4 separate regions of the Homo sapiens genome follow, and all the other regions are linked to region 1. Evidence: promoter capture Hi-C in 16 types of primary human blood cells and fetal thymus (Javierre and others, 2016). All regions are on one chromosome and are shown on one strand. The core of a region is centred on a gene start or on the middle of the fragment in contact, and the rest is flanking DNA. Distances in the headings are between cores, read along the strand shown.

Region 1 (6,531 bases), core at 1,953-4,452:
TAACGTGTCCATTAAGGACACTTAATGCCAGGGGGGCAGGGAGGGAGGTGGTGGAAGCGGCCAACGGGGCGCCTGGGTGCGGGCTAAGAGGGGCGGGGTGCGACTAGTAACTCAAACGAAGAAGTAGAGACAGATTGAGAGAGGAAGAGAAGGGGACCCAGTGGGGCGTTAGGGGAAAGAATGGTGAAGACGGAGAGACCGACTGAGACAGGAAAGGGATGGAGAGAAACGGAGCTTTGAGGAGAGAGAGGAGGTACCCAGGGGCGTCTGTAGCATCAGAGGACTGGACCTCCCCCTTGGGGAAACTGGCTTAGCAGCGTTGAGAGCGTAGTTAACCTCAGATCACTCCCAACGATGACTTGGCTCCTGCCCTGGGCCTGTTGGTGATGGCGAAGGGAGGCATTCAAGGCCGAGGGCTCCCCAAACCTAGTTCCCAAGTCCCCTGCCCAGGGACGGAAACAGGAGAACGCCCCTCCTCAGGTTAGAGCTCTCTCTTGATACCTCCCACCGAAGTCAGGAGCATGGGAGAGGCAGATCTGCTCCTTCCCGGGTGCCATCCTCGCTGCCCTGCACCCAGGTCCCTGTCCCGGTCTCTGGTGACCCTACTGGTTCCCGAGGGCCACTCTAGGCTCCACCACCCTGGCCCTCGCCTGCGGCCGGAAAGTGAAGTACTCCTCCCTGCGCCCGTTCCTCTTGAGTCCCCCTTAGCCCCATCACCCGGTTTTGGCCCAGACCAAAACTGGCTCCTTGGCCGGGAGCACTGGGCCCTCCCCACTTCGTTCTTGGGGACAAACTTTATGGCCCCAGGGCCTTTCCTCCCTCCTGGCCTCTCCAGCTAGAGCGGGACGCAGGTGCAGGGTGCTGGACGCAGGTGTGCGGCCGCTTACCTGGGGCGTGCAGGCCTTGGGCTGCGGGGAGGCGGCGGGCGCCGCGCGTGGCCCGCGGGCGGGCGGACCCGGGGAGGGCGCTAGCGACTGCGCGGGCGGTGGGTGTGGCGCCCCGGCTCTCAGCTGTCAGGCGCGCCTGCCCCGCCACTCGGGCTGTGACCGCGCCGTCCCCGCCGCCGCGCCATGCGCTCCAGGCTTCGGCCTCTTCTTCCGGCCAGTCCCCGGCCTCGGGGTCAACGGCTCAGGGTTCGCATCTCCGCGCCCGGGGTCCCGGCGCCCCGTGCCCGCTGAGAGCGGGAGGGGCCGCGGGTGGGAGCGCGGAGAACCAGGGAGCACGGCTGTGCGCGCGCGCGGGGAGGGGCCGCGCCGTCACCCGGAGAGCCCGGCGGATCCCGGACTCCCGCCCGCCGCTCCTCCCGCCGCGCACCTCCGCTCACCGCTCGCCCGGCTCCAGCCGCCGCCGCACTGTGAGTACCCACGTCCGGTAGCCCGCCGCCCCCGCGCTCTGCTCCTGCAGCTTTTTTTTCGTTTAGTTCTGATTTGGGCTCCTGTGGCTGTTGTTTTTATGATTATACCTAAAGACACCACCGCCTCGCTCCCACCACTGCCAGTCTCCCGCTTCGCTGCCCTCCCCAAGCTCGTCCATCTAGCTCCGGGAGCCGACGGGGGTTCCTCAAGCTGCTCTGGCTGCTGCTCCTTGTCGCTGCATATGGCTCTTCGCCTGTGCTTTCCGCTTTGGCCCCCGAAATTCCGTTCCTTTCCTAGGGACCCCCTTCTTCTGACTCCGGGCCCGGACCCCCCTCCTCTCACTCAGGGAAAACCGCGCAGGGACCCAGGACCCTCAACTGGGGTACGCTCTCGGCTCGGGCGCTGTCTTCACTGTATGCGGGCCAGGCATAGTTGCCGATTTCGAGAAACCGAGAAGCTGTCATTTCCCAGCGCTGCGCGCCCTCCAGCCACCTCCAGGAGGGCGCGAGGCTTGTCAGCCGGGGAGTTAGGACAGTGTTTTTGCCTCCTACAATGATATAAAGGACTTCAACGCGAAATAAGGGTCAACTTATTTTAGTTCGATCCTCGGAGATAAAGATGAAACAGACAGATAATACATAAATAGCTTGATACTTGAAGAAGGTACAAAACAGATGAGAGAAAGAGGAACGAGCCGGCAGAGACAGCTCAGGGACAGATAAGATCGACAAATGAGGGTCTCCTAGACAAATAGAGAAGAAGGGAGAGAGACAGATAAACAGAAGATTCCAGTCTCCTTGCTGAAGGCTTTTGAACTGGGATCCCCTGTCTGGAGCTGCCCCTCTGAAAACGGAGTTACATTCAGGGCCGACTGCAGGGGAGGAGCCCTCAGGGTTGGGCTGCCCTGGCCGCAGGAGCGCCTGCAGCCTTGGGCCGGATGGGAGCCTGGCTTGTCTGAGGACATGTGGCTGGGTCAGGCGACCTAGAGGGCCCCAAACATCAGTCCCCAAGTACCCCCGCTGCTGAGGTCTGCCTGCACAGCTCCCTCCCTGCCTCAGCCAGAAAGCAAAGTGCAAGGACCAGCAGCAACTTGTGTGCCTGGAGCCTTGCAATGGCTACGAAGATGGCTGAGATTCCTTCTAGCCCATATGAGCCGGGACAGCGAGGCATGAAGGATACTCAGAGAGGTGATGCCCCTCAAAGAGGAAGCCCAGAGCCCCGAATCCTGCAGTTGGCCCGAGTGGGAAACGTATATCTGAAGGAGGAAAGCTCAAGGAGTGGGCGACTGGAAGCTAAGAAGTGGATCCCAACAAAGTTCCTTGAGAACCTCTCTGTCCCACACGTTGACCTCGGTGGAAACCAGCTTTGGTCTGGAATACAGCTAAAAATGCAGAAAATGTGGTTAGAACTGCAGGATCCTGGTCTCACTAATAGCTGGAAAGAAAACGGTTTATATATCCAGCCGAAATCTTTCTGCTCAACGAACGCGGGCGCCAGCCGTGAGAGGAGAAGCTCGGGTTTGTGGAAACTGGCAATGTTGTCCCCTGAAGCCGGCTCGGGCACCAAGCTGGGTGCGGTGGGGGCCGCGCTAGGTCCGGGTGCGCACCGAGCGCTTTGGAGAGGGTCAGGTTCAGCACCGCGAACAGCGGTAGCCTCCGCCTCTCTCCTTCCCTGGCAGACACGGTTCCCTCCTCCTTCTCCTCACCCCCCTCCTTCTCTTCACCCCCCTCTACCCCCTGCTGTCTGGAGATGGGCAGTGACCGCCCCTCCCCCCTCCCCACCCCTCCTTGCACTGCCCCCGCCCGCCCGCGTGCATGCGCGACTGAGCAGAGGGGCGGCCGATCCCCGAAGTCCGGGCTTCAGGACCCGGGCCGGCAGCACCGGCTGCGAGGGTTGCCGAAGGCGCACGGATCTGGGCGCTGAAAAAGCCAGGATTTGGCAATGGCTTTGCTGTGTGGCCTTGGGCAAGTCACTCTGCGTATCTGGGTTTCACTTCCTTCCCAATCCGAAAACGGGATTGGGTTCCTTGCAGCCCGGGCATTCCTGAGGTCTCCTTTACCCCTTCTCCTCCCCCAAGCCCCGGGGGCTGTTGTTAACGGCGCCAACATGGGTCTGAGTAACAAAAGACGCCTGTCCAGGGGGTGAATGAGTTTGGACTCCCCACTGCCAAGTATCCCCCGCGCGCCCAACTCGGAGCGCCCTGCTGGGCGGGCCCGAGCCTCGGCGGCGGCGCTGAAAATGGCTCATCTGCTCTCTGCTTTCTCTATTTCGCAGGAGCGGCGGCATGGAGGCTCTCACCACTCAGCTGGGGCCGGGGCGCGAGGGCAGTTCCTCGCCCAACTCCAAGCAGGAGCTGCAGCCGTACTCGGGCTCCAGCGCTCTCAAACCCAACCAGGTGGGCGAGACGTCGCTGTACGGGGTGCCCATTGTGTCGCTGGTCATCGACGGCCAGGAGCGCCTATGCCTGGCGCAGATCTCCAACACCCTCCTCAAGAACTACAGCTATAATGAGATCCACAACCGCCGCGTGGCCCTGGGCATCACGTGCGTGCAGTGCACGCCGGTACAGCTGGAGATTCTGCGTCGGGCCGGGGCCATGCCCATCTCGTCGCGCCGCTGCGGCATGATCACTAAGCGAGAGGCCGAACGCCTGTGCAAGTCGTTCCTGGGCGAGCACAAACCACCCAAGCTGCCCGAGAACTTCGCCTTCGATGTGGTGCACGAGTGCGCGTGGGGCTCGCGTGGTAGCTTCATCCCTGCGCGTTACAACAGCTCTCGTGCCAAGTGCATCAAGTGCGGCTACTGCAGCATGTACTTCTCGCCCAACAAGTTCATCTTCCACTCGCACCGAACACCCGACGCCAAGTACACGCAGCCCGATGCCGCCAACTTCAACTCCTGGCGTCGTCACCTCAAACTCAGTGACAAGTCGGCCACAGACGAACTGAGCCATGCTTGGGAGGACGTCAAGGCCATGTTTAATGGCGGCACGCGCAAGCGGACCTTCTCCCTACAAGGAGGCGGCGGAGGCGGTGCCAATGGCGGGTCGGGTGGGCAGGGGAAGGGTGGTGCTGGCGGCGGTGGCGGCGGTGGCCCAGGGTGCGGTGCAGAGATGGCCCCAGGCCCGCCGCCCCACAAAAGCCTGCGCTGTGGCGAAGATGAGGCTGCCGGGCCTCCGGGGCCACCTCCACCCCACCCGCAGCGCGGACTTGGCCTGGCGACTGGAGCTAGTGGCCCGGCGGGCCCAGGAGGGCCCGGTGGCGGCGCCGGCGTACGAAGCTACCCGGTGATCCCGGTGCCCAGCAAAGGCTTTGGGCTCCTGCAAAAGCTGCCCCCACCACTTTTCCCCCATCCTTACGGCTTCCCTACGGCCTTCGGCCTATGCCCCAAAAAGGACGACCCGGTTTTAGGCGCGGGCGAGCCAAAGGGCGGTCCTGGCACTGGGAGCGGCGGCGGCGGCGCGGGGACAGGCGGGGGTGCGGGGGGCCCGGGAGCCAGCCACTTGCCCCCGGGGGCAGGGGCGGGCCCGGGCGGCGGCGCCATGTTCTGGGGGCATCAACCCTCCGGGGCAGCCAAGGACGCAGCGGCAGTGGCTGCAGCGGCCGCCGCCGCCACTGTGTACCCGACGTTTCCCATGTTCTGGCCAGCAGCAGGCAGCCTCCCGGTACCGTCCTACCCCGCTGCTCAGAGCCAAGCCAAGGCCGTGGCGGCAGCCGTGGCGGCGGCAGCGGCGGCGGCAGCGGCAGCTGCTGGCAGCGGTGCCCCAGAGCCCCTGGACGGTGCCGAGCCAGCCAAAGAGAGTGGCCTCGGCGCGGAGGAGCGCTGCCCGAGCGCTCTGTCCCGCGGGCCCCTGGACGAAGACGGCACGGACGAGGCGCTGCCACCGCCCCTGGCCCCGTTGCCCCCGCCGCCCCCGCCGCCCGCACGCAAAGGCTCCTACGTGTCGGCCTTCCGGCCGGTGGTCAAGGACACCGAGAGCATCGCTAAGCTCTACGGGAGCGCCCGGGAGGCGTACGGCGCGGGGCCTGCTCGGGGGCCGGGACCCGGCGCTGGGAGCGGCGGCTACGTGAGCCCGGACTTTCTGAGCGAGGGCAGCTCCAGCTACAATTCCGCCTCGCCCGACGTGGACACCGCGGACGAGCCCGAGGTGGACGTGGAATCCAACCGCTTCCCCGACGACGAGGACGCCCAAGAGGAGACCGAGCCCAGCGCACCCAGCGCAGGGGGCGGCCCAGACGGTGAACAGCCCACTGGACCCCCTTCCGCCACCTCCTCTGGCGCGGACGGTCCCGCAAACTCTCCCGACGGCGGCAGCCCCCGCCCCCGGCGCCGCCTCGGGCCACCCCCAGCTGGCCGGCCCGCATTTGGGGACTTGGCAGCCGAAGACTTGGTGCGGAGACCTGAGAGGAGCCCGCCAAGCGGCGGCGGCGGCTACGAGCTGCGAGAGCCTTGCGGGCCCCTAGGAGGCCCCGCGCCGGCCAAGGTGAGCCCCGCGCCCGCCCCGCCAGTGGCGCCTTCCCACCTACCCTGTGCGCGGCAGGGCTGCGGGGCCGGGCGGAGAACGGGAATTTTGTTCCGCGCAGGCGTGGGAGCAGCAGGCCTCGGCCACTCTCCGCAGGCCCAGCCTTGGGCGCGCTGCGAAACTGGGCCCACCCGCACCCTCCAGTGAGGGTTTCGAAGGGAAGGGAAGCTGGGGGCGGCGGGAGGACTGGGGAACTTGTGTGCTTTGTTTTTGTTGATGGGAATGGGGAGGAGACCGGCTGAGACTGCCAGACACAGAGACAGAAAAGGGGTGTGGAGAAAGAAAGAGGAGGTAAGAAAGGAACCCAGAGCCAGAGAAAAGCGCTCGCCCGGGTGGGCATCAGAGCCCCAAGGAAGAGGAGAAGAGAGGACAGTGTGGCCTCTCCCTGAGTCGGGCCCCAGCAGTACCGGGTCCCCGGAATCTCCCACCACCCCAACTCGCAGTTTTCCGAGTCTCTTCGCACTCCCGCCTTGGGAACCACAGGGTTCGTTGCTGGGAAGCTGTCTCGGGACCGCGTGCGGAGCGGGAGGGGGGCTCTCAAGCTGGCAGGGCCGGGGCTTGAGGGGCAGGATGCAGCCAGGCTGGAGTCGTTGGCCATTTTGAAAGTGAGTGCGCATACCTGTACATTCGGTTCATTAAAACACGAATCATTAA
Region 2 (6,531 bases), core at 1,197-3,696, 300 kb before region 1:
AACCACAACCCCCAGCTTCAACATTTTGCAAGCAACAGGATCAAGAGTCCTGTGGCAGTGGGGCCAGCAATGGCATGCTCGCCAGACTAGTTCCTGTTGGTCTTATCTATGTCTTTGCTGTTCGGACTCTCCTCGTTCCTTCCCATTTTCTGAGCCTGGTTCTCTAGACTTCTTGTTTACTATTTGGGCTACCTAATTTTCCTCCAATGAATCCCCTTTCTGCTCAAAACAAAAGAAAATCCAAGACAACAACACACTGAAGTTTCATTGTTTTGTTTTTTATCTATAAAGTTAATATAAAAAATTTGAACTTACAGTTGGACATGGTGGCTTCTGTAATCCCAACGACTCAAGAGGCTGAAGTGAGAGACTGGCTTGAGTTCTGGACCAGCTTAAGCAACATAGTGAGAACCCACGCCTAAAAAATAAGTAAAATAAAAAGTTAAAAAAAGTTTGAACTTATGCTTAGTAATAAAGCATAAGTTATTTTTGTTTTTTTTGTTTTTTTTTGAGACGGAGTCTCGCTCTGTCGCTCAGGCTGGAGTGCAGTGGCACGATCTCAGCTCACTGCAACCTCTGCCTCCTGGGTTTAAGTGATTCTCCTGCCTCAGCCTCCCGAGTAGCTGGGACTACAGGCATGTGCCACCACGCCCGGCTAATTTTTCTATTTTTAGCAGACACAGGGTTTCGCCATGTTGGCCAGGCTGGTCTCGGACTCCTGACCTCAGATGATCCACTGGCCTCGGCCTCCCAAAGTGCTGGGATTACAGGCGTGAGCCACCGTGCCCGGCCTAAAGCATAAGTTTTAACCAACTTTATATGTTGGGGACCTTCAACAGATTTCGTTTGAAAAAGGACTCCACTCTTTTTCAAAATTTAATTTGGTCAGGTGCAGAAGCTCACACCTGTAATCCCACCACTTTGGGAGGCCGAGGCGGGCGGATCACTTGAGCCCAAGTGTTCAAGACCAGCCTGGGCAACATGGCAAAATTCCACCTCTACAAAAAATACCAAAAAAAGCAGCCGAGTGTAGGTGGCACACACCTGCAGTCCCAGCTACTTGGGAGGCTGAGGGTGGGAGGATCTCTTGAGCCCAGGAGGCAGAAGTTGCAGTGAGCCGAGATCGAGCAGCTGCACTCCAGCCTAGACAACAGTGAGATCCTTTCTAAAAAAAAGAAAAGAAAAAGAAATTCTATAAAGTTCAAGTTCTATAAGGTAAAGTTCAACTTCAAATTCTGTAAGGTAAAGTTCAAGATTCGGCATATGTTGGTGGGTGCTCAATGTTCAATAAAAACTGGGGAATAGGCCTGGTGCAGTGGCTCACGCCTGTAATCCCAGCACTTTGGGAGGCCGAGGCAGGTGGATCACGAGGTCATGAGTTTGAGACCAGCCTGGCCAACATGGTGAAACCCCGTCTCTATTAAAAATACAAAAATTAGCCAGGCGTGGTGGTGCACGCCTGTAATCCCAGCCACTCGGGAGGCTGAGGCAGGAAAATCACTTGAACCTGGGAGGCAGAGGTTGCAGTGAGCTGAGATTGCACCACTGCACTCCAGCCTGGGCAACAGAGTGAGACTCCGTCTCAAAAAAACAAAACAAAACAAAACAAAAAACTGGGGAATATAAAATTTCGCCATACTATCCTACATCCCCCTTGAGTTTTTAGCAACGATAGTAATTGTTATATGATGCTTAACGCGTAATTACTGTACCTCATTTACATAAGGTGGTTTCAGACACATCATCTTGTTTATGTATGGCCTCTCCAAACAAAATGAGTTTAGGACAAAAGAGGAAATCCTTTTCTAAAAGCAGTTTTGTCCGTAAGTTACTGCCTCAAGAGGCCGCAAAGTTTGAGCAAAGCTTTTCCGAAAGTAATGGATTGGTAATGGGTGACTGAGGTCCACAAAGCTCGATAAGAGGCTCCTGGTCCGTCTACCAGGTTCTTAGAGGGAGGTGCCTTTGTGTGTTCGGACGCTGCACTGAGACACGTGAGGTTTTTAAATAAACTTTTGATTTTGAAATCTCTGGGACTAATTTTAAACAGTGAACCCGACAGCGAGGACCTACACACAAAAGTGCTCCCGGCCTTACCAAACAACGCAGACCCGGGGTCACGCCTCGTCCTGTTTCAACAACAACACCCAAGGGCTTCCCTGGAGCCCAGGGCGTGGGAGGGAGACTTGGGTTTGAGTTCTGCACCTTGCGGAGGTGGTTAGTTATTTAATTGTCTTCCACCTGAATTTTCCTCAGGCCCAAATTGATGAGACCTCCCCGAATCCCTCCCCTGCCCGAGTTACTAATGACGGCGTGAGGTCACACCTGGCCACTCAAAACCAGCTCCTTGACGCAGGTGACCCTCCGCCTCGCGCAGCTCACGCTTCCCATCCCCCGGACTCCACCCCCAGCGGGAGGCCACGGGGCCGCTGTGCGCACGCGCCGCCGCACACCGGGGGCTCTCGGGCACCCGCGCGGCGCCGGTTGGCCTTCCCGGCGCTCGCCCGGGGGCGCGCTTGCGCGCCAGCGGCTGCGGACACCAGCCTGCGTCCCCGGCGCGGCGGGCCATGGAGGCCCTGAGGAGGGCCCACGAGGTCGCGCTCCGCCTGCTGCTGTGTAGGCCGTGGGCCTCGCGCGCCGCCGCCCGCCCCAAGCCCAGCGCCTCGGAGGTGCTGACGCGGCATCTGCTGCAGCGGCGCCTGCCGCACTGGACCTCCTTCTGCGTGCCCTACAGCGCCGTCCGCAACGACCAGTTCGGCCTCTCGCACTTCAACTGGCCGGTGCAGGGCGCCAACTACCACGTCCTGCGCACCGGCTGCTTCCCCTTCATCAAGTACCACTGCTCCAAGGCTCCCTGGCAGGACCTGGCCCGGCAGAACCGCTTCTTCACGGCGCTCAAGGTCGTCAACCTCGGTGAGTGGCGACTGCCGCGCCCACGCGGTGAAGCCCGCCCGGCCGGGACGGCCCCTCAGCCACCGAGCACGTGACGAACGCTCGCAGGCCGGTAGAGTCCCGCGGGAGTCAGCTCTGCCTCCCGGCGCCGGCTTCGCCTGGGGTCCTTTGTACTCCTCGCCCAGGGGGTCCCCAGCTTGCTGAGCTCCTGGCACCCGAAGCCGTTCGCCTGCTGCGGGCGCGTCCTCGGGCCTAGGGAGGGGCGGGTCGCCCTCCTGTCCTGCCCATGTTAACCAGAGTAGACCCCTGGCCTGGGCAGTAAGCCAGGGGGCGTCAGGAAACGCCCCCTAGAAAGTGGCTCTGAAGTTGACATCCGTCCTACTGCATGGCAGGACTCATTCCCGTGAACATCACTTTGCAGCTGCGTTTATGTTGCAATAACTGGAACTACTCTTTTAAGTTTCTTTTGTTTTCTTTGTATGAATTCCCGGCAAGTTCGTTTTACTAAAAGCACCAAAGGTTTTCACCAGACATAACAGCTTCCTGAGGTGCTAGGCCTAAAAGATTTTTAAAGATCTTTAATATTTGTATATTTTCATGGAGACGCCCTGAGGATGTTTACTGTCACTAGGTGTTTATTTTCTTTTGGTTTAATGACAGAAGAGGGAGGTACGAACATGGACATGGGTGTATCTTTTATAGGTCAGGGGAAAACAGAAGGCCTCAAGATGTTTTGAACTTACTAATAGCTGGCATAAAATCAATCTAGATTTCAGTGATTCAAAATCTAGCCATGGAGCTGAATGAACCATGTTACCCAGCCAGGTTTTTAAAGCCAGGATTAAAACTAAACCCTGCGCAGCCGTACTACTAATACTATTACATAATCTGATCGTCCATTAAGGTTAAAAATAGTCTGTGTATTTGTGCTTATAATAACACATATGTCAGTCGTGGGCTTTTTGAGCCGTTACTCCACTGGACTGTCCTGTAAGGAGATAATTGTTTAGCAACGTGTTATCCTTTAAAAATGCCTCTTATTATTTGGCTGATGGACTGTATAGAGCATGCCCACTACTTTGGAGGTTGGTTGAAGTTGAAGGGTGAGGTGACTTAGGAAATTCAATTCGAAATTATTTGGAAAGACTGGAGTGTTAACTAGATTCGAGAAGTATAAGTTTATTTTAGCATTTTTCATAAGTAAGAAATCATTCTTCCCTAAAGAATAATAGGTTAGGAAAAGCATAACGGGAGAGTTATAGGTAAACCATGAGCCAAATGCCTTTTTTTCCTTTAAAGTCACATTTTTAGTGTTGACATTTTGTTTAAGAGCACCTTAATGATTAGGGGCCTCTCTTTTAGATTTAGAGATTAAGACATCCAAAAAAAGTGGATACTCAGAACATTCCACACATAGAAAAGTAAAACCTTTTAAAGTTGAAAGAAACAACAGTTGTAGTGTTTTTTGTTTTGTTTTGTTTATTAATGTGGGAGAGTGATTTAATGGTCTGTATGGTCTTTTGGACATTCTAAAAATCCTGCTAAAATGGGAGTAAGAGTTCTAAGTTAAGCAAAAAGGACAACTTTTTGCTCATGCATGCTTTAATACAAATTGGGATATACTGATAAAGGGAATTAAAAAATATTTTAAAGTGGTGAACACATCTGGTAACGTTTATTTTTAATTTTTGTCTGAAGGTAGAGGGGATGTGAATTAGATAATAGGTCCTTTCCTATTCTGTGAGGTACAATCGTCTCTCTGGGTGATAAAGTACATATCCTATTAATATTATACTTAGGATTTTGTTCCTCTTCTTCCCTTCCAAATTCATTTTTCCATTTTGTAAATAATAAAGATTTCTGTTTACCCATTTGCTCCTTTTCTCCTCCGTCTTCCCTTCAATGGAAGCTGACATTTTACTGATGGTTTACCAGTCTAGGTATCCTGCTGAGAAGTAGATTGAGATTTAAGAAAAGCAACTTACCATTGGAATGAATGAGATTTACTGAGGAATTCTAATTTTTTAAAGTGCTTAATTTGACAGTGGTTTACCTACTGTTCAGCTGACTCAAAGTGAATTATTATGCAAAGAACTGATTTGGAGGTTCTTTTGATGTTACATGTTTCAGATATAAATTTAATTTTTCAGAAAAAATTGAATTTTTCATAGAATCTTATAGACTTCAAAGCATGTGTGCTACAAAGATTTTGTAATATATAAGTTATATAGGTGGCAAACCTTCCCATTTTGAGTATTAGTCTGACTGCATTAAATAAACAGACAGCAAGGGGAAAAAAATACAGAATTTCTGACTCAGATCATAACTCCATCTCCTGTCAAACAGCATCACTGCTAATGGTTGCTGGTTATTTTTTAATAAGACATAATATAGTTATTAAGCTAGTAATCTTTGATCAGCCCTTGATTTTAGCTGAAAATATATTGACCGTTTATTTCTGTATTTGTGATTTTTCAAAAGTATGAATTTTTTAAATCAATATGTTAACTGAAAACTATGATAAATACTATAAAAGAAAATTGTCAGTGTCACCAGGTATTCCTTAAATTTATATACTTAGCCTTGGTTTAAGAGGCCTATTTTATGTATTTTAGTCTCAGTATGCTTAGAAAATTAGTAATTGCTTCTAGAGCCTATTTTTTTTCTTCCTCACTCCATTGATTTTCAGCTTTGAAGTTGTGATATTGCATTTTAAATTTATTTTTTATTTCAACTACTCCCTATACTTCACTCTCATTTCTGCCTAGCTTGTTCATATTCTTCTTTTTCTACCTCCCACCCCTGAGCCACTTGCCTTTTTTTTTCTTTGTGGTTAAATGATTTATAAGTAGCTTTATTATTCTAGTTTTTGTGGATTTTTTTATGACATTCCCTTGAGGTATTCAGAGATTCTTTTGGACATTATCAGGGCAAAGAAGGTGATACACTATAAAAGGTTTCATGGGAGTTCCAGGGAACCCTGTGATGGTGACAAACTGTGACCCAGTATATTCCTAAAAATAGAGAGATGCCAGCCTGAATGGGCATTTTTTTCCCCTTCTCATTACCAGCTAGTGATGTGATGCTTCTCCTGATTAATCTCTGGCATCACAGTGGCTGGAATGAAGCTTCAGGGAGTAAGCACAAAGTGGTTCAGCAAACACACTCAAAAAGAGCTTAACACAGCAAATATATTCTTGCAGAAAAATAAGACCAAAATTTAGCAATATGATTAGTCCAGAGCATGTGTTGCTTTTTTGTTTGTTTTTTTTTTTTTTTTTTGAGATGGAGTCTCCCTCTGTCGCCAGGCTGGAGTGCAGTGGTGTGATCTCGGCTCAGTGCAACCTCTGCCTCCTGGGCTCAAGCAATTCTCCTGCCTCAGCCTCCTGAGTGGCTGGGATTATAGGCATGCGCCATCACGCCCAGCTAATTTTGTATTTTTTGTAGAGACGGGGTTTCTCCATGTTGGTCAGGCTGGTCTCGAACTCCCAACCTCAGGTGATCCGCCTGCTTCGGCCTCCCAAAGTGCTGGGATTACAGGCGTGAGCCACAGTGCCCAGCCGCGTTCTTTATTACTAGAAAGAAAGTGATTTTCCAAATGTACAGCTATCCTTTTAAAGTGTCACTTTCTGCCCATTTCCC
Region 3 (6,531 bases), core at 1,075-3,574, 280 kb before region 1:
TTTGGGAGGCCAAGGTGGGTGGATCACCTGAGGTCAGGAGTTCGAGACCAATCTGGCCAACATGGTGAAACCCTGTCTCTACTAAAAATACAAAAATTAGCCTTGTGTGGTGGTGGGCACCTGTAATCCCAGCTACTTGGGAGGCTGAAGTGGGAGAATTGCTTGAACCCAGGAGGTGGAGCCTAGATCATGCCACTACACTCCAGTGTTGATGACACAGCAAGAGTACATCTTAAAAAAAAAAAAAAAAGTAAGGAAATGCTGACACATGTTACAACATGATGGACCCTGAAGGCATTATACCAAGTGAAATAAGCCAGTCACAAAAAGGCAGATACTGGATGATTCTATTTATATGAGGTATCTAGAGTAGTCAAATTCATAGAAATAGAAAGTTGATTGGTGGTTGCCAGGGGCTGGAGGGAAGGGGAAGTGGGCAGTTGTTTAATGAATATAGAGTTTCAGTTTTGCAAGATGAAAATCTGGAGATTGGCTGTACAACAGGATGAATGAATGTATGTAACACTACTGATCTGCACACTTCAAAATGAGTACAATGGTAAATTTTATGTGTATTTTATCACAAGGAAAAAAATCACTAGACATCTAACTTTTCAGTAATGTGTCTATTTTCAGTTAAATTTGCCAGTTAACTGAAGCCAATATAGGCCAGTTTTCATATTCCTTAGTGTTATCACACTGGTGCACTTACTGTTTTACCATTTTCCCTTCTGATTTCATTTTTCTGTTAGCATTTACTACTATCTAACATATATTTTACTCATTTGTCTGTGTTCCCCATCAGAATATAACTTCATGAGGGGAGGGATTTTCTATTACACTTAGTGAAAAGTAAATCCCTCAAGTAGGAACACTACAAGTAAGCACAGTTTTTTTTTTACAGTAAGTTTGCTTAATGGCTAGTAAACTATCTCAGCCAGTACCTGAGTGACTATTCTGACTTGTATCATTTAACAAGAAAAAAGGCCTGGCGCGCTGTCTCACGCCTGTATTCCTAGCACTTTGGGAGGCCGAGACGGGTGGATCACTTGAGGTCAGGAGTTCCAGACCAGCCTGGCCAACATGGTGAAACCTCGTCTCTACTAAAAGTACAACAATTAGCTGGGCGTGGTGGCACATACCTATAGTCCTAGTTACTTGGGAGGCTGAGGCAGGAGAATCGCTTGAACCTGGGAGGTGGAGGTTGCAATGAGCCGAGACTGCGCCAGTGCACTACAGTCTGGGTGACAGAGTAAGACTCCGTCTCAAAATAAATAAATAAAATAAAATAAAATGAAAAAAAGTACTAAATGCAAACTTCTTAAGATCACATGCAACTTCGATGTTAAATACTAAATATTCCTTAAATTTAGACAGTATTCAATTTGGTAAAGATCAGAAAGTTATATTTTGTCATTTATGATATCAAGTGGAATGTATTATCAGTGATTATGATGCTTCTCGCAATGAGAGTTATAACTTTCTGGAAAAATCCTTGCTCAAATCATCAAAGTTAAGATTTCTTACTACATAAAGGCTATGAAGAGCTGACGTGTAATTATATTGGCTCTGCAAATATTGGAACAGAAATATGAGTTTGCCATTAGTGTAAGAAAAGCTTCAGAATATGTATGCAAATTTGGCAAATTGAGTTGGTTTTCCCCACGGTACTTCGAATAAAAGAGACATTTTAACAAATCACAGGTTCATAGAAAATCTCTAGTTTCGTGGTCTATTTTCTAAAATAATAGGAAATGAACTTTTAATAAAAGTACATGAGGACTTTTGATGAACGGTTTATTTTTCACAGAAGTGAAGTGCAGGTGAAAAGGGGAAATTCCTAGAATATCTGAAGGATCTGACTAAATGAATTTCTACCTAAGCTATTGATTTACAGTAACTTAAAATGTGATAATTTATCTCCTACAATGGCCTTTCAAATTAAATATAAAAGTAACTCAGAGTAAAGTATGCAGAAAAAATTTTGGTATTGTAACTGAAAATGACCAACATTAATTTTTTTCTCTCACATTAATCAAGCACCTTACTGTTAGAAGGGAAACTGACAAGCCTCCTCAACCGAGTTTATACAAAATTCAACCCCAGAAAGTAAAGCCAATTCGTGCACCTTCATAAGAAAGAAATAAAGGACGAACCTACACATTACAATTTGTAAAGAAACTTCTGTAGAGGCACCATCGTTCTACAACCTTATGCACTTTAAAATCTGAGGTAACAAGGCATTTGAAGATAACCAAGGTTGGCCGGGCGCGGTGGCTCACACCTGTAATCCCCCCAGCACTTTGGGAGGCTGAGGTGGGCGGATCACGAGGTCAGGAGTTTGAGACCAGCCTGGCCAACATAGTGAAACCCAGTCTCTACTGAAAATACAAAAATGAGCGGGCACGGATGGCGCACGCCTGTAGTCCCAGTTACTCGGCAGGGGTTGGGGGCTGGTGGGGGTGGTAGTGCTGAGGCAGGAGAATCGCTTGAATCCGGGAGGCTGAGGTTGTGGTGAGTAGAGGTCGCGCCGTTGCACTCCAGCCTGGGCGACGGAGCGAGACTCCGTCTCAAAAAAAAAAAAAAAAAAGATAACCAAGGTTTATTGCTACTTCCGTGATATCACCATATCACCAACTGCGTAAGCAGTGCTATTTAGTTGAAAATACATGGACTAGACCGAATATTTCTGCAACAGTTTAATAAGAGACGATGATGCGACTACTGCAGCTGTCCCCAGGCAATTAAACTCTTCGGCGAATTTCTTTACTATTGCTTTTGAACAGGGAACTGTTTGCTATTTTAGGGCACTCGTGCGGTAAAGAACTTCACTGAAAAATGCAAATATGTTTTGCTAATGTGGGAGAAAGATGATGATCCTCTGAACCTGTGACTTGGAAGGGGGGATAAAAAAGAACTATTTCTTGAATTCTTGCCTTGCTCTTGCTGATTCGATGCACACAACCCCACGAACATTCAGATTCATGGCTTGACAAAGTGGGGATAACCGGGAGCTGCAGCCCCGTCTTTGAAGCTTTTGTAAAGACAAACGGTCTGCAATGTTAAGCCTTAAATTGGCTTTTGGCGGACTCCAGCCTTTTACCCTTCGTTTGGTAGATGTTTTCACCTCGCTGTCATTAAGCAGGGTCAGGAAATGGAAGGGCCGTGACCGGGTCGCCGCGGGCGCTCTGTGGGCGATGAGGGTCTCCTGAGCGAGCAAGACCAGTCTCTCCCCGACTCGCCACGCGCCACGCGCCGCGCGCCGCGCGCCGGTTCCTCGGCTTCCCACGCCGGGGGCGCATCCTCCCGGGAGCTGCTGCCCTTTTCCAACATGGCGCCGCGGGAGGCGGGTCCCGCTCGTCGGCTCCCGGGGTTCCGGCGCCGCGCGTTTTGGTTCCGGAGTAACAGTGTCGCCGCCGCCTTCCTCCTCCTCCTCTCGCCGCTACCGCCGTCGCCGCCGCCGCAGCCGCCGCCAGTCCGCGCGGCCTCGGGTGGCCGGAGCTCAGCCTGCGCGCGCCGCGCCCTGTGTCTCCGGGTGGGGCAGAAGACTCGCCCCTTGAACCTCCCGCGGGGACTCTCCGTGGTGTGGCGGCCCTGGGGCTCTTTCTTAATAGCCCCGGACTGAGTCCCCTCCAGTCGAGGACCCTCTCCTAGTCCACTGACGAGCGGTGGACACCTGCCGCTGTATCTCCCCCAAACCGAGTCCTTGCCCTGCTGCCTCCTCATACCCACACGGCGGCAGAGACCTTCACCATAGCGTTCGCTCAACTCCAGAACCTTCCGACCTCCGCTAGTTCCTGCGGGCCTTTGCCCGCTTCCCGGTGCACCCTCCCCGGGAGACACCTCAGACCCCCGACAGCCTGGGCAGGCTCGGTGCCTGCGGGTGCGTTCCTGATCACCCCTCCCCTCTTCCCTCCCCCTCATCCTCCATTCCCTTGTTTTCACCCTCTGTCCTCTGCCCGTCACTCCCCTTGTCACCTCTTGGAGCCCCCTCCTAACCAGCGGCCAGTGGGTTTCCCATACCCCAGGATGTGAGCCTCTTTAACCTGTAATGCTGTGGCTAGCCCTTGGCCCCTTTCCTGCCATGGAGAACCAGGTGCTGGTAATTCGCATCAAGATCCCAAATAGTGGCGCGGTGGACTGGACAGTGCACTCCGGGCCGCAGTTACTCTTCAGGGATGTGCTGGTGAGTGGTAATCTCAGTGTCCGGATGCCAGCAAGGGGGACTCAGGGACTTGAGTAGTCAGCACCTTGACCACTGGTGACCTGAGCCAGTGGCAATGGCTACTGCTGGCTTCCTGTGGAGGCAGTTTTATTGCTTCAGGCACAGCATTGATAAATTGCAACCACTAAAACCTGGCAAATGTCTAGGACCCTGGGGAGATAGATCAATCTGACTGAACCCCTGCCCTCAGAGAGCTCATGGCCCGGGCTGGGACACACATATAGACACAACCACGCAAATGCAAACTGCTGAATCTAGAAGAGAGGTTTTTTCCCCCCAAGTGTTTCGGGGAATGTCCTTGGACAGATTCCAGCCTTGTTTTTCTACTGAGTTCTCTGAACTTGGTGACCAGCTGAGAAAGGGAAAAAGGACAACTTTAACTTACCATGTTTGAGCACACTGTTTCATTAATTTATTTTGAGACAGGGCCTCACTCTGTCGCTCAGGCTGCAGTGCTGTGGCACGATCTCGGCTCACTGCAGCCTCTGCCTCCTGGGCTCAAGCGATTCTCCTACCTCAGCCTCCCAAGTAGCTGGCACATGCCATCACACCTGGATAATTTTTGTATCTTGTAGAGACGAGGTATTGCCATGTTGCCCAGGCTGGTCTTGAACTCCTGCGATTTGCTTGCCTCGGCCTTCCCAAAGTGCTGAGATTACAGGTGTGAGTTACTGTGCCCAGCCTGAGCAAACTTAAAGCATCATTGAATGTAAGACATTTTACTTAGAAAAAAATGCTAACCATGACAGTATGACACATCATCCGTTATTAAAATGAGTCCAGTTTCAGAGACGGTAAAAGTAAGGGAAAATGTGCATCTTAGAATTGGTGATATTTTACATTCAGATTTTTCAGAATATATTTCAAATAAAATGATGGAATTTTAGAGCAGAGTGTAACACTGTAGGTGGCCTGTTCAGCTGATGTTTCTTTTTTGCAGATAGTTACTGAGGAGCAGTGAGGTGAAATGGCTTTTCCAAAGCTGTGAGCTCCTGAGTGGGAGAGTCAGTACCAGAACTAAAATTTTGTTTCATTGACTTAGTAGGTTTCTTTCCCTACATGTTGCAGCCGCTTCTAATCTTTCTGGTATTCATTTGAGATAGACAGGGTGCCTTGTGCCCATTCTACATGCAGAATAACTGAGGCATGGAAGACAGAAGCGGACATTCCGAAAAGCACATCACTACCTGCAAGTTAAGAGTGGGCAAGGTGGCAGGATCTTGGGAAGAGGAAGATTTGTGATGTGATTTTTCATTGTCTTGGGTAACTTAATCAAAATTTGATTTCTATAACTTCATTTTGAGTTCTAGATGTTACTGACTGCCCAGGCCATGCAGATTTTTGGGTGCCTTGACCAGGAGCTTTCCATATTGTGCATCAAATGCCATCCTTCTCTTTGTATCCGGAGTTCTCCACACAGTCATGCACATACAGATTTCCCCTCATGATAAGGCCCAGGCTCCTTCATGTGGTCCTCTGGGCACATCTGGATTGGCCCCTGTCTGCCTGGCACCTGTGTCATCTCTCTTCACGGCCCCATAAACTTCTGTGCCTCACTTACATAGGTTGATTTTCATTTCTCCCAGGTGTCCAGGCTGTCTGCACTCTGCTCTTCACCGGTCAATTCCCACCTGTCCTTCCAAGCCAAGTTGTGCTTTTTCTCTGTGTCATTCTTGGTTATGTGCCCCACCTCTGTGTCGTCACAGCTTTGTGTGGGTCCCCCAGCAAAGCACATGTTTGATCATGATTCTTTGTCTCCTCCACTAGATGGTAAACTTCTGGAGGAGATAGATATGTTTGTTTTTGTTTCTTCATAGGACCCCAAAATACTTGTTTAAGAAGGGAGCTTAAAAGAGGATGCATGCAATTATGGTTCTGTGGACAGAACACTAGGTTTAGAGTCAAGGAATTTGGGTTTAATTGCAAGCTGTCCCACTGACTAGGCAAGTCAGTCTACCTCTCTGAGCCTTAGTTTCCTTATTTGTAAAACAGGGAAACTTGTACCTTCCTCAAAGACTTGGAAAGATTATGTGAGATTGTGACTGTGATGAGAAAGATGGGTTTTCTCTTACTCATTTAAAACAATGGAAGGTTGATTATTATGTGATTATATTATTTGGTTATGTGATTATTTCAAGAATAGCCCAGTGTTTAAGACCACAAACTCTGGAGCCAGGTTGTTTAACTTGCAAGTTGTACTACTGGGGCAAGTATCTTCTGTATCTCAGTTTCTTTATTTGTGAAAAAAAAGTTGGGGAGGGGTGAAAGTAATGCCTACCTCCTAGAGTTCTGAGGACTCCTTGAGT
Region 4 (6,531 bases), core at 2,432-4,931, 260 kb before region 1:
TCCCTACCATAATGGTACCTGGCACGTAATAGGCACTCTATGTGTGTTTCTGGAATGCATGGATGGTTGAAGAGTGAAGTAATAAGGATAAGCTTTCTATATCCCATTCATCAGCAAGTCCTGTTGGCTCTATCTTCAAATTTATCCAGCATGTGATGACTTCTTAAAACCTCAGCTTGGTTTAGGCCACCATCATCTCTCACCGGGATTAGGACAGTGGCCTCCAAACTGGTCTCCCTGTTCTACTTTTGCCTCTATACAGCCTCTTTTCCACATGGCAGCCAGAGTGATTCTTTTAGAAGTCAGGTGACACCACCACGCTCACAACCCTCCAGTGATTTCCATCTCACTCCAAAGTAAAAGACCAAGTCCTTAAAATGCCCTCCAAGGCTCTGCATTTTCGCATCTGGCCTCAACCTGTCCCACCATTGTTTCTCTGAACCCGTGTGTTTCTCCCCAAACCTCTCATTCTGTTCTAGCCACTCTGGCTTCCTTTCGGTCTGTCAAACATGCCAGGCATTCCTCTGACCCAGGGCCTTTGTATTAGCTGCTGCCTCTGCCTGGAACAGTCTTTCCCCAGATATCAGCAAGGCCCACTCCCTCACCTCCTTCAGTCTCTTTCCACTAGAGTGTATGTTCCATGAAGGCAGGATTTTGTTTGTTTTTTCTTTTTTCACTGTTACTGTCCCAGTGCCCAGAACAGTGCCCACCACATAGTGGGTACTTTTATTTGCTGGAAGGAGGAAGAAAGCAAAGAAGTAAGGAAGGAATCAGGAAGAGGGAAGCAAGAAGCTAAATTAAAACTCATGGATATGAAGATGTGGCCATGGAAAGTACGGCCTCTGGTCCTGCCCACGTCATTAACTCCGTGCCTGAGAAGGGCTTTAAACATGACATCTTTTCCGGTAGTTTCCTGTTGATGTCTTTCTAACTTCTATAATTATGTTTTCATTTCTTTTCTCTTACCTGGGAAAAGTGCCTTTGCAGTAGTTCTAATTGCCACCTGGCACAGAAGGAGTGTGACAAATGACATATAATATATTGCCTTAACTTTCTGTAGCTCTTTGTAGAAGCTAGATTGTTTCTCTTGAAAGCCTTCTTGAGCCCCTGTCACTGCAGTGGGTGCTGTTTGGCTGAGAGCTCCCTGGAGTCTGCTGTTTATCTGCTGTTTACTCAGTAGGCCATTGTGACCGCCCCTTACCTGAGGCTGCTTCTCCTCTCTATTGGGCCTTTATGTTTCTCTTCTTGGTTTTTCTTTTGGATTGCATGTTGCCTCAAATAAAATTGCTAACAACATATGGCCTGTTATGATTCTCTTTTCCCAAACTCTGCCATTTTGTATATTTGTGACACACTGCAGATTTTGTGAAGATTGCTTCATAATATTGGTTTACCATCTGCTGCACTCTATTTGGTATCTTGCTAGGATTTTTTCCTCCATTTTAAGTGACATTAACAAAATCTAGCCAGTACATAGGCTTTCTGGTTCTACTTTTGCTTCCCTAATGTGCTGGAAAATCATATTACTATGCTCCAGGCAACTAGAGAAGCCTGGAATTCTCATTGTGAACCAATGTATCAGATCTGTCTGCTCCCCTACCCCCACCCCTTTTGTTGGTCATATCCGGTAACGTTTTTTTGGTCAGATGGCAAAGAACCTCCATGTATAAGATAGAAAAAGCTCAAATTATTTTCTTGCTTCTTAGTACCACTACTTTCTAGTGTTGTTCTCTAACATATTTGTACCTCTGAAACTTTGTGGCAGTTTAGTAAGTTTTTATGATTTATGGTTCCAGCTAGTGTAATTTTTACAGCTTATCCAGCTTGATAGGCAGCTAGCCTGAATCTTGGCTAGATGGGCTGTATATATCCAAGTTTTTGTTCAGAAAAGTATTTTAGGCTACTGTCATAGTAATTTGCTTAGTATGTATTTCTGCTTTCTTACCCTTCACTAACTTTTCGTAGCTGTCAATTCACTGTCTTTAGAGAGAAGTGCATTTTTGCTTTACAGGTTAAGGTGAGTGGTTTGCTCTTGGGCTGCCATCAAGGGGTCAGAGACAGCTCAGCTTTTGCCTTTTGGCTGGAGCCACCAGTCTTCTCATGGGTATGGTTACTTTTCTAACTCAGTTTCCTCTTGGACAAAAACAAGGAGTCTTTAATAAAACGACTAAGCATAGATATTAAAGAGCAAATCAGACAGTCTCCCAAAGAGCAGTTTGTAAAGAAAACCAATACCTATATAAAGCTAGGTATCCTATTAACCCACAACAACTATTCATCAGTATGCCATATAAGCCTGATTTTATCCCCAGCCTTTATTAGAATGCCTCTTTCAACTTATCTGAAATCTTCTTTTGGAGTCAGACCCCCTAAGGGGAGAGTTCCAACATTTTATCACTGGGTTGATGTCAAAAGCTATTCTAACCTTTTGGCTTCAGTTTTCTGTCCACTTAAGCAAATGCTCTTGTAATGTTTCATAGCTACTTTTTATGCAACTTCTCTTCAAGAAATTATTCTGGTAGCTGACTTCTTTCACAGATCTTTTTCTTCTGAAATAATCCCTCAAGAGATTTCTTAGAAATTTAGAATTCCAAAATATTTTGGTTTAAGTAGCCTTAAAGGTTCAAGCTCTAGCTTTGAGAAGTTGAAGAACTCTCCTTTTGTTCTTGATTGTGATTTAAATGATTTTTATGTAATCGGTGCCCCCCCCTTTTTTTAAATAAATTATAAGAAGGGTTTTCACTCGTTTTACCAAAATATAAGCACTTGCCCATCCTATGTGAACAATACCTTATTCAGGTCTTGGGTATATTGAAATTCAAATATAAGCAGTCTCTTTTTAACCATAATCTCTATAGCTAGCTTAGTTGCAGAAATGAGATTTATTTTAAAAAAACTACTTTATTCAGGCTGGAATTTGTTTTTATGCCAAGTTCAGAACTTCATAAAGAACAAATCAGTTTAGCCTACATTTAAAGAGAATTTGACCTGGTTTTAAAGCAAAAATGTAAAGTGCTTTCATGTGTGGTGATATGTAACATTACATCATTTGTACTTTGTTTTTTCCTGTCTCCTGCATTTTTAAGAAAACTTTCGCCTTAACCTTGAAAATATTAGTTTCTAGAACTTATATATAGACAGACTCCTTTCTTCTCTCTCTACAGCTGGAATGGCATTTCTCCCCCAATTTGGCTCTAGAGATTCTATATCTAAAGCGAATGAAAGAATCTTTATGTGTGTAACATCTCTCAGGACTGTGCCTTCTTCATTACTGCAAGTGACCAGTGTATGCCTTTTACTCTGAAAACAGGCAACTCTTGATAGCAGAATACTGGTAGTGACTCTCCTAGATTTAGACAGTGTGATCTTGATGATACCGATTCACACTGAGTTGGGGAACTCTGCAGCAGTGAACCAGGATCCAGAAACAAGTGCTTGGAAAGAAAACAAGTGCTTGGAAAGAGTGAGAGCTATGGGTCACTGAACAGGACTGGTCCAAGTGCTGGTTTCGATCATGCTATCAGATTGCTGTTGGCCACTGAAGAGATAAAGGGAGAAAGTATTTTGCTTGAAATTAGGCTAATTGTGAAAGAACACAAGCTTCCTCCTAGGGTCCCCATAGCCTAGTCACCAAGCAGGGGGATATCCTTGGAACTACAGCCAGACAGGAGGGAAGACCCACTGACTTGTGGTAGGGGAAGATCCCTGTGTTGAACTGAACTCCCTCTGTACTTTCAGTAAGCATCCCCTGACCATGTTGGGCAAGCTTATTCTCTTCATGATGAGAGATTTGTCTGAGGTTCTCCAGGCTTGGGATCAGAACAGTCTTTCTATATGATCAAATCAGCAATTATATGCCCAAGAGTGAACAAAAATAATAATTCCGATTGTTAACACCAGAACTGAGGCATCCTGCTGAGAGCCTGCCCCTTCCAAGTTGTCCCCTTGGGAGGCTCTGTACGTTGCTCCAGACGTTTTTGGCATTTCTTTCAACTGTGCATTTACAGTCTACTACATAGGCTGTCCTCACTGTTGACAAATCTTTATAGAAGGATGAAGAGTTAACTATATATTTGGAAATAGCCATAAGTCATTCTTAGACATGCTTGGCAGATGATGTGGGTAAGTGATCAGGCCAACAATTTCATTTTGGGTTAAAAATGAGATTTAATATTCTCACATAGTCTATCTTCAGGTTTTTAAAGCAGTTTTGAAGAGATATTTCAAAAACTACTTTGAATAAGAGAAGTATCATGAAATAAATACATTATTTCTAGATGTGGCCTCTGATGATACTTACTCAAATTTACACATTCTGGTTATGTAGTTTGTGAAGTCTTGTCCTCCAGCCTTAAGACTTAAATTATTTCAAAATAGCATGAATAGCATTTGAAGCTTTCTATGGCTGGAGAGTATGCAAAACAAGTGAAACTGTTCGGAAAAAGAGCTGCTAAATAGAATGGGGGAGACCTGTATTAGAGCTGCTTTACAAGTTAACCTTGCACTAGGCCTAGGTTCTCCTGTGGAAAGAGAATAATAATAATGATGTTCATGTCGCAGGTTTGTTATGAGGTTTTCAAGGAGGTATTGCATATGAAGCATAGATCACAGTGCCTCATGTATTGTAGTGTTCAGTAAGTGTTAGCCATTTTTATCATGCTGTTGTGAGATGATAGATTGCCTGGGAGAGAGGAAGAATGGAGAAATCGGGGTATGGTGCTGTTTGGGAGATTTAAAAAGTGTGGATAGTAGAACAAGACTGGCCTCTCGTTGGTTTTTAGTTCCGCTAACCAAACCTGTTTTGTCATACTCCAGTTATATTTACTTTAACCTAGAGATATGTTGTGAATGACATGAGCAATATTTTAATTTTCTGCTATCCCTAAAAGAAAGTTTTATATTGAGATTCTGATCATATTCCAAATGGAAAACAAAACAACAAACTAATAATGTCAACATACCCCCAAAATGTGGTGTTGAGGGTTAGAATATCACATTGTAATAAACCGTTTATATTATGTTCCCTTTGTGCATTAAACAAATGCACACCTTATCATTTGCATTATGTGCTTTTAAACAGATGAAGATGAAGATGGTGATCGAATTACAGTGAGAAGTGATGAGGAAATGAAGGCAATGCTGTCATATGTAAGTATACGACAAATGAAGACTATTTTTTAAAATCTTAACGTGATTGAGGATGCTGTTTCTTGGGCATAGTGAAGACGAGTAAATAAATCACAGTTGTCATACATTTTTCTATATAATAGGTAAAGGTTTCAAGGATTTCCGTATGTGAAAGTTAAGGGCATTATTTTCAAAAGACACTTACTGATCATATCATAAACATTAAGAATAATGCATCTTAATGACTTTTGCATTAGGTATGATGCAGACTAAATGGACTATCAATTTCCTGTATTTTTTATGCAGTACTTAAAGTAACGGCTCATTAAAAATGAACCCCTGGGCTCTAAAAAATTTTTCAAAATCTACTTTCAACTGGAGATCTCTCTCACCCTTCCAGACTATAGTTTACAATGTAGCTGCAGGCTTAATATGGATACACGATTTAAAGATGTACTGTTGGTTATTTATGCACTACCCATAATACTCCCACCGAAAATGAACTACAGGGCTACTTACTGAATCAAAGTGATCTGAATATATTCTGAAACGACTTTTCTTTTGTGTTTAAAATTTTACTGAAAATCTGCGTTAACAGTTATCTGATACTGAAGTAAACAAGAGAAAAGGGCATATTTCTAAAGCTTCAATACTAAGCTTGAAAAATTCAGCTATCATGAGGAGACATAGGTTACCTGAGTCTTGATTTGTGCCTTCCTCTCAAGTTTTGTTTTGTTATATCTGAGTCTGTAATCTGTTTACAAAACCTTTTCCCGTGGCCTGGTAGAAAGAGCATTGGACTGGAAGTCAGGAGACCTTAGCTCTACTGTGGTTTCTTGGCCCTAGGCAAATCACTTAACCTTTCAGTGCTGTAGTTGCCTCATCTGTCAATTGTGGATAATAATACTTGTCCTTTATACTGCACAGGGCCATTGTAATGATCAAATAGAAGAATAGATGTGAAAGCCCTTTGAAAAGTTAAAAGTTCTATACAAATGCAAATGATGGAATCATTTGGAATCATGTGGAAATGATGGAATCAGGGCTCTTGCTTTTCACTGAGACCCTAATCTTAGTCAACAGTTAGGTTGTAGGTTTTTGATAGACTTCAGCTTCAGCCAGGATATTGTTTCATTGTAATGAAAACTGTAAACTGTCTGTATGGGTTTCTGCCAATAGTTTTAATTTAGGGTAGGAGAATAGAGAACAAGAAGGATAGGATGATTAACAGAGCATTGCATTCCAACCAGCACAGAATAGGAAAAGTCAATTTCCCATTGACTTCGCATTAACTTATGTGAGAGTCTTTGTGTACTGAGAATTTAGAGCTGGGCTCATCAGTACCTTGAAAGGCAGAGTAGGATTGTCTGCTGAAAAGGTCTACCACTGGTATTGATAGATTGG

Evidence for each region. The method cuts DNA at HindIII sites, captures the fragments that hold promoters and counts their contacts. A CHiCAGO score of 5 or more calls a contact.
Region 2: a contact is called between the fragment with the promoter of C15orf61 here and the fragment with the promoter of SKOR1 in region 1, in 8 of 17 cell types (naive CD4 T cells, total CD8 T cells, non-activated CD4 T cells and 5 more). The highest score is 8.2, in naive CD4 T cells.
Region 3: a fragment that was not itself captured here is called in contact with the fragment with the promoter of SKOR1 in region 1 in 5 of 17 cell types (activated CD4 T cells, total CD4 T cells, megakaryocytes and 2 more); the score reaches 5.5 in activated CD4 T cells.
Region 4: a contact is called between a fragment that was not itself captured here and the fragment with the promoter of SKOR1 in region 1, in 3 of 17 cell types (naive CD4 T cells, non-activated CD4 T cells and activated CD4 T cells). The highest score is 5.9, in naive CD4 T cells.

Annotation. Positions count from the first base shown.
Region 1 is chr15:67,822,307-67,828,837 of GRCh38, forward strand. It overlaps SKOR1 (SKI family transcriptional corepressor 1), which reads left to right and starts at 3,203. Exons shown (of 9, transcript NM_001365915.1): 1 at 3,203-3,403; 2 at 3,630-5,838. The coding sequence starts at 3,297. It overlaps LOC124903570, which reads left to right and starts at 1,071. Exons shown (of 4, transcript XM_047433429.1): 1 at 1,071-1,133; 2 at 1,653-1,737; 3 at 2,333-3,096; 4 at 3,207-3,278. The coding sequence starts at 1,071. The coding sequence ends at 3,278. RefSeq lists enhancers at 4,471-5,109, 5,110-5,747. The HindIII fragment of the contact is 26,599 bases long and covers 1-6,531 here.
Region 2 is chr15:67,518,685-67,525,215 of GRCh38, forward strand. It overlaps C15orf61 (chromosome 15 open reading frame 61), which reads left to right and starts at 2,447. Exons shown (of 2, transcript NM_001143936.2): 1 at 2,447-2,910. The coding sequence starts at 2,565. It overlaps IQCH-AS1 (IQCH antisense RNA 1), which reads right to left and starts at 3,160. Exons shown (of 6, transcript NR_040052.1): 1 at 2,835-3,160; 2 at 316-418. RefSeq lists enhancers at 2,034-2,113, 2,754-2,873 and a silencer at 2,294-2,643. The HindIII fragment of the contact is 4,154 bases long and covers 1,862-6,015 here.
Region 3 is chr15:67,539,285-67,545,815 of GRCh38, forward strand. MAP2K5 (mitogen-activated protein kinase kinase 5) reads left to right here and starts at 3,419. Exons shown (of 22, transcript NM_145160.3): 1 at 3,419-4,186. The coding sequence starts at 4,052. It overlaps MAP2K5-DT (MAP2K5 divergent transcript), which reads right to left and starts at 3,346. Exons shown (of 1, transcript NR_186334.1): 1 at 1,784-3,346. RefSeq lists enhancers at 236-325, 2,359-2,859, 2,512-2,561 and a silencer at 3,435-3,554. The HindIII fragment of the contact is 1,416 bases long and covers 1,617-3,032 here.
Region 4 is chr15:67,558,203-67,564,733 of GRCh38, forward strand. It overlaps MAP2K5 (mitogen-activated protein kinase kinase 5), which reads left to right. Exons shown (of 22, transcript NM_145160.3): 3 at 5,081-5,148. Among named protein-coding and RNA genes, the nearest start is that of MAP2K5, 19 kb to the left of the region's middle. The HindIII fragment of the contact is 166 bases long and covers 3,599-3,764 here.